2 separate regions of the Homo sapiens genome follow, and region 1 is linked to region 2. Evidence: promoter capture Hi-C in 16 types of primary human blood cells and fetal thymus (Javierre and others, 2016). All regions are on one chromosome and are shown on one strand. Each heading gives the region's core, a stretch centred on a gene start or on the middle of the fragment in contact. The rest is flanking DNA. Distances are from core to core; before and after follow the strand shown.

Evidence for each region. The method cuts DNA at HindIII sites, captures the fragments that hold promoters and counts their contacts. A CHiCAGO score of 5 or more calls a contact.
Region 1: a fragment that was not itself captured here is called in contact with the fragment with the promoter of BPGM in region 2 in 1 of 17 cell types (fetal thymus); the score reaches 8.2 in fetal thymus.

Annotation. Positions count from the first base shown.
Region 1 is chr7:144,832,299-144,835,841 of GRCh38, reverse strand. TPK1 (thiamin pyrophosphokinase 1) reads left to right here. Exons shown (of 9, transcript NM_022445.4): 2 at 224-282. The coding sequence starts at 240. Among named protein-coding and RNA genes, the nearest start is that of TPK1, 2.0 kb to the left of the region's middle. RefSeq lists a silencer at 1-48. The HindIII fragment of the contact is 1,006 bases long and covers 894-1,899 here.
Region 2 is chr7:134,644,735-134,648,234 of GRCh38, reverse strand. It overlaps BPGM (bisphosphoglycerate mutase), which reads right to left and starts at 1,382. Exons shown (of 3, transcript NM_001724.5): 1 at 1,298-1,382. All of the region lies in intron 1 of LOC124901750 (a long non-coding RNA gene), which reads left to right. RefSeq lists enhancers at 1,046-1,155, 1,256-1,405. The HindIII fragment of the contact is 1,395 bases long and covers 662-2,056 here.

The DNA of each region.
Region 1 (3,543 bases), core at 147-2,646, about 10 Mb before region 2:
CGGCCCGCGCGGCCGGTCTCCGGGGGCCCCCGCCCGCGGCGGTGCTGTAGGCGAGCCGTGGCGGGTCCCCAGCGCCGGGTGCTGCGCCGCAGCTCAGCTGGCTCCTGGGTCCCGGAGCGCGCCGCTGCCGAGTGCCAGGTTCAGGCGGCTCCCGTGCTGTTGGTTCTGCGCGATGTTTAATTAAAACTGAGAGTCTAACTTCACTTTTTTTTTTTTAATGCAGAGGCCAATAATCCGTTATGGAGCATGCCTTTACCCCGTTGGAGCCCCTGCTTTCCACTGGTACTGTATTTCTTTCCACGGTTTAGTGTCACTGACGTGCCCCTCCCCAGCGACGGGAACAGGTCGAAAGGACGGGGCTCTAGAGCCAGCGTGACTTCCAGCCTGGGTTCTGTCCCTGATTTCCTAGCTCTGTACCGCTAAGCATATCAGCCTCTCGCCGGTCTCATTTTCCTCATCTGAAAAATGAGCTTACGTATCAGTCCTTGCTGTGAGGACGAAATGACAAGATACAGTGTGTGTAGTCCGTGTGGAGCCCAGTAAGCGCTTCCCGGCTGTTGCGCCTCCACCAACAGCGCGAACAAATCTGGAACATAGCGGAACATTAGACATTGCAGGCATTAAGGACGGTCATCGTTGCCTGACCGTGATGCATTTTTAATCCATTGAAAGTGCCCCGAGCTTATCTAATAAAAGATTGGCAAATGATTATATCAAGTGTTTTAAATCTATATAACACTCAGGATATTTTATTCTTCTAAGATTTGAAATTACTGTGTAACCGAGTTCAGGCTGGGCTGCTCGCTGCTTGCAGAGCCAATCAACAAGGACGAAGGGCCCGGAAAGGAAAGTGACTACTTTCCAAAGCTAGCAATGGGGAAGTAGTCCAAGCTTCTGCCTTAACGAAACCATTTCAAATTTGGACAAAATGTAAGAGCTTATAAAGGGGCGCTTGGTATTGGGGCTCGGGGGCCCCAGTCTACGTGACTTGCTCAGATATTTATCTTGGGTTTTTGCCTCATCTGGTGAATGGGCTGGCGCCTGAGTATAACTGGGTTGCAAATTAACTGCAGCCTTGAAGTAATCTCCAGGTGGAGGAGAATTCAGTAGTCGCCTGAATTGTTTCAAGATTAGTCTCTGGAACTTCAGACGAACACATAATTAGATAAGGGAAACGTTGTGTAAGGGTGTTCGTGGGGGAAAGGAGAGCAAAGACTATTATCTCATTGTTAAAGGTAAGACAAGGCATCGCACAGGAAAGAGAAAAACTTTTGAAAATAAGACATTCAGGTACTTCACATGGAAATAGATGGAATGAATGAGTTTATGAGGCAGGTTGTTAGCATTCATTCTTGTGTAATAATTGACTACTGTGTGATAATTTGGTAATGTTAAAGTATTTTCAATTAACTATTAGTTTTTTCTCATAACTTTCGTAAATTTAAACAGAAAGTATAATTGTTTAAACGTTTACATTTGTTTTCTGTCAACATGAATTCATGGGTCGTGTTTTGGGCATTGAATTTAACTTGTACGTTTTTCCACATGCTGGGAATAGTAGGTGACATTGACTCCTTACTCCCAAGTCATGTTTTTGTTTGTGACAGGGTCTTGCTTTGTCGCCCTGGCTGGAGTGCAGTGGTGCCATCATGGCTCACTGCAGCCTCGACCTCCCATGCTCAAGCGATCCTCCCACCTTAACTTCTGGAGTAGCTAGGACTACAGGTGTGCACTACCCCACCTGGCTAATTTTTAAATTTTTTGTGGAGAAGGGGTCTCCCTGTGTTGCCCAGGCTGGTCTTAAACTCCTGGGCTCAAGTGATCCCATTCTCCTGCCTCAGTCTCCCAAAGTGCTGGGATTGTGGGTATGAACTACCACGCCTAGTTATGCTAAAAGCTTTATATACATATACATGTTTATGTCTTATTCTACAGGTGAAGGAAAACAGTTACATAACTAGAGTCTTAATCCCTTTATTATTTTAGTAGATTAAAAGGTTGAGTGTTTATTACTTTAAACAGCTTTTCAAAGTTAAAAAAAAAAAAAAAAAAGGCCAGGCGCGGTGGCTCAGGCCTGTAATCCCAGCACTTTGGGAGGCTGAGGCAGGAGGATCACCTGAGGTCAGGAATTCTGAGACCAGCCTGGCCAACATGGTGAAACCCTGTCTGTACTAAAAATAGTCTCTGCTAAAATTAGTTGGTTGTGGCGGCACACGCCTGTAATCCCAGCTACTTGGGAGGCTGAGGTAGGAGAATTGTAGGAGAATTGCTTGAACCTGGGAGGTGGAGGTTGTAGTGAGCTGAGATTGCACCATTGCACTCCAGCCTGGGAGACAGAGAGAGACTCCATCCTCCATCTCAAAACAAAAACAAAAACAAAAACAAAAACAATCCAAAGAAAAAAAACCCCAAAAGGCACTGGGAAGCACATTTTGCAAATTTCCTAGTTCTCGTTTATCCAGTATTACCAGGACAAACAGCATTTTCTAGAGTAAACATTTGATTTGGGTGAAATGTTGACTTTCAGATTTGTTACTGAAACCTAAGAGCATTACTGTCTGAAGATTTCTAATGGTTTCTAGGTTAAAAGACATATATCAGGGATACTGACTGCTGCATAATAAAGATTGTATTGAGGAACTATAATATCTGGGTTTAAATCCTAGCTTTGCCACTTAATAGTTATTTCACCTTGTACTTCCATTTCTTCATCTGTAAAATAGGAATACATCATAGGGTTATTATGTGTATAAATGAATTAGTACAAATCAAGCACTTAGCTTCAGTAGCTATAAGCTGTTCAGCAGTAAGTTTGAGGGGAAAGCAAAAAGGCAGTTGAATCTCAGGGTGGATGCTGAGATGGAAAAGGAGGGAGCTGATAGCTCTGCCCCTTTGTTTTTAATAGAGGCTTAGTGGAGAAGGCCTTGACTGCTTAAGTCAGGACATTTGTAAGTTCCACATTGGAGCAAGGCCTGTAGGGAAATGGTGATATATGAAGTACAGATCCAGGGAACAGAATCCAGTGCCTGGCCTCTTGGGTGGTTCTCACAGTTACCTCCTGTTGTTCCTATGGGTAAAACTGTGTAGGATTCTTGTCTTATCTCTAGTTTTGACCTTGAAACAAGGATTTGGGCAAGTTTGTGATTACTCTGGATATGTATAAGGTGTTTAACAACAGAACTATTACTATAAGGGCCAGTGTGATGCCGGATCTTTTACAGTAATTCAGTAAATTTTTGAGGTTAATTTTTTTATTGGAGAGATTCCCTTTATCAAACAGGTTCAGTGTTTAATACTCACCTGGCAGAGAAGTTTTTTCTGATACCAGCTTCTGTGAATTTTATTTGTTGGTATGATTTATCTGTAATGCTTATTAAGATTTAGTATAGTGGACAATCCAACAATAAAGGTAGTTCTCTACAGATTAAGAAGTTGCTAAGAAAAGTTTTGTGGACCAAAATACTTAACCCTCTGGGATGATCACTAGCCCAGGGAAAGATGGAATTCTTTTTAAAATTCTTTTTTTTTTTTTTGTAACTAAGT
Region 2 (3,500 bases), core at 133-2,632:
GAATCCAGGAGGCGGAGGTTGCGGTGAGCCAATATCGCGCCATTGCACTCCAGCCTGGGCAACAGAAGCGAAACTCCGTCTGAAAACAAAACAAAAAAAAAACCAAAACAAAAGAAAGAAAGAAAGAAAAAAGACAAGGCCAGGCACGGTGGCTCACGCCTGTAATCCCAGCACTTTGGGAGGCCGAGGCAGGCAGATCACCTGAGGTCAGGAGTTCAAGACCACCCTGGCCAACATGGTGAAACCCCGTCTCTACTAAAAATACAAAAATCAGCCAGGCGTGGTGGCCTATGCTTGTAATCCCAGCTACTTGGGAGGCTGAGGCAGGAGAATCACTTGAACCCGGTAGGCGGAGGTTGCAGTGAACCGAGATCGAGCCACTGCAGTCGCTCCAGCCTGGGCGACAGAGCGAGACTCCGTTTCAAAAAAAATAAAAAATAAAAGACAAATTGACATGAGTTCTGCTTTCACTATTAAAAAACCTTTAGTACCTACAGGTGAAACTTAGCTTTTGATTTTTCCCCTTCTTGGAAAGAGTCTGCATTTAGTCAGCTAACATTCTAGTACCACTCACAAGCTAAAGATCTTCCGTAATTTGCAAGGGAGGCAGTAGGGGGATGAGAGTTATAAGTTAGCTAACAACCAACTATTCTTTAAAGCTTAACTGTGAACTTAACTGCAATTATGCATTTCATTGACCTTCTCTAGTGTAATACCAGCTCGTCCCTTAGAAAAGAGGAAAATACACTTACGTTTTTATTTCTAGTGGTTCTAAGAACTTGTGATTTGGCTCCAGATTCCTACATGAAAACACTGCATATATTCACCTCCTTCTCTTTTCACCGCATTCGAGTTTTTCTGTCTACTACACAAAATGATAGATAGGGCCAGGTCTGCCAGAACCCTAAATACAGCGGCATCGCCCTGCTTCCTTCCAGGGGATCTTACTATTGGAAGGGCTCTGCTACACAGTACCTCAGACATCCAGAAGAGAGTTTATCTTCCCTCCAACTTCTATATATTCTTGCCATAAGGACAGCACTACCAAAGCGGGCTCCTCCTCTCAGTTGACAGAACGGTGACTGCCTGCGAGGCTCATTCTGAGATAGGGACAAGGGAAAGGGACCGGGGCGATAAGTGAGGGTCCCAGCTTGAGGGCTGGAGTGGGCACCAGACTCCCACCAACGACTAAACCGGGGGAAGTAAAGAAACTGGCCTTCCCCGCACCCAAAAATAAAACATCACATCACTAAAAAATGTAAACGTTCGCAACATTTTCTAAAACAAAGCCACTCACCTGCAAAGGGGCCACCAGCAGCAGCAGCAGCAGCAGCAGCCGCTCCTCCGAGCCGCCAAAGAGCCAGCGCCTCCTAGGACTCATCACTGCCGCCGGCATCGACGCTCTTTTCTAGCCCCTGAACCAGACGTGGGCAGGTCCTAGGGCTCTGCCTATTGGAAAGTCGAACTGTCACTCATCCACGGTCCCGGCCTACTCCCGGAACAGGAGAGGTCTCTTCCGTTTACCAAATCCCAGGAGTAAGAAGTGGGGCTCTGATTGGTTTACTCTAGAGACGAGCACATACCTGAACCAGTAAGGAGTTGGCTTCGACGCCAGCGGGCAGGCTTGGGCCTAGGGAAGTAGAAAAACACACCCTAGAGCGTCGCTGGTGCAAAACCTCGGGTGCGGGGAGCATCTTAGCTGTTTGAGGTTCTAGAAAGCGTTTAACGTCTTAAAAGAAACACCTGCGGGTGAAGACAGGTGTCAGCGGACTCTTGGAAGAGAGGAGGTGATGTTTCTTTTACTTATGGGAAATTTAGGGATTGAAACCTGAAGACGAAGCCGAGGTATCCTCCCAGAAGAAGCTCCTTTCGCACAAATTACTCGTGGTTGAAAGTCTTAAGTCGTGATTAAAACAAATGCCTTTAAAGTGCCCAATTTATAGGCAGTAACGCAACCTTACTTTCTCTTACCGCTTTTATAGGGATTCCCCTAGGCAGTTTGCTGACAGTATTTTAGGTGGGGAAGAAAAGTGATTAATGGAATGCCCTAAAAGCTTATTGCACAGAGGAAGGGAGGCTAGAGTGGAATGAGAGAATGACAAATTTGGAGGCGACAATAACTGAACAAGAGAAATCTATGAAAACACCGGAAACCTGGCACGAGGCCTTAAAAGCTTCTAAGCAGGCTTGAACTACCACACGAGGTTTTGAAGCATATGTGTCAGAACTCTTGGGTGGGCGGGAAAGATAAGGAATGTTATGGGAGATTCCCTTCTTAGAAGCTATCCTAAGTAGTGTTTCGTGTCCTCCTGTGAGTTTTTCCTGTTTCATCCTCCTAACAAATGCATTAGGTTTGTGACACGCAAGCAAGTCCTCAGAATAAATTATACATACAGTTGAAAAGATAATCTTTCCACATTTGAAATTCTGTGACACACTCTTTATTGAACTCATTAAGACCTAATCGTAGCCAGTTCTGTATCTCATTTATCCATGTTAGAGCATGACAGTTCCTCCTGGGATATCAACAGAACTTTACTTCCGGGACGGCACTAATCCGAGGCTTGACAGGTCCCAGCAGGTGATAGGTCTCACCTAGTGATAGTTAGAATTTAACTTGCACAAGATTAACTAGAGTTCAGGCCAGAACAGCTGGAAGGGGCAGCTTCCAAATCTTATACATTTGCCCTCTTGCTTTTTTCTCAATATCAGTTGAGGACAAAGTAAGGAGAAAGCTTTTCTTCTACAGTGTAATAAAGCTCCTATTCAGAGTGCCCACCATCCATACTCCGGAGGCTAATGACAGTCATTACCAAGTGACAGTCTTGTGGCATTTGGCATTTAGGGCTACTTAGTCTGGACTTAAGGGCGCCTACTCATTGGATTTAAGTTTACTGTTGTTATGGACACCCATGGAATGCTAGCTTGTCACATAAAACCTTAATATCAAACATCACTTGCCTTTTAGAATCATTCGCAAGAGTATGTGGCTTATGAATGAGTCATTTTGATATAAGATGGAAGCTTATATCAGTGATTCTGTCTAGAAGGAATTAAAAAGCAGATTTTCATCAGGAGCAAGCATGTTTGTAAGACAAATGTGCACAGAGGCTAACAGAATTTCAGGAGTTACTTTTGCCCTATGGCAAGATTGTTCTCCATACTTAATTATGTTACAGTATCATATCCTGAACCCTGTGTCCTGGTCTATTCGATGAGCTGTCTCTCTTATGAATTTTTAAATAACGAGGTCGTGGTTCACAAAGATGATCATAAATCCATTTAAGGCAAAGATGAACTCCAAAGAATATTAGACTTGTACAAACTTAGTACTTGACAGGGCTTTGGAAATTAAACTCTAGCTCCTTGTTGTACAGATAAAGAAACTGAAGCTTAAGTGATGTGCTCAGAATTACTTGGTTGGGGACAAATCCTGGGCTAGGACCCAAGGTTGCTAATTCATATAATTCTGGGAAGATGCTTCCTCTTCCTGCTGCCTT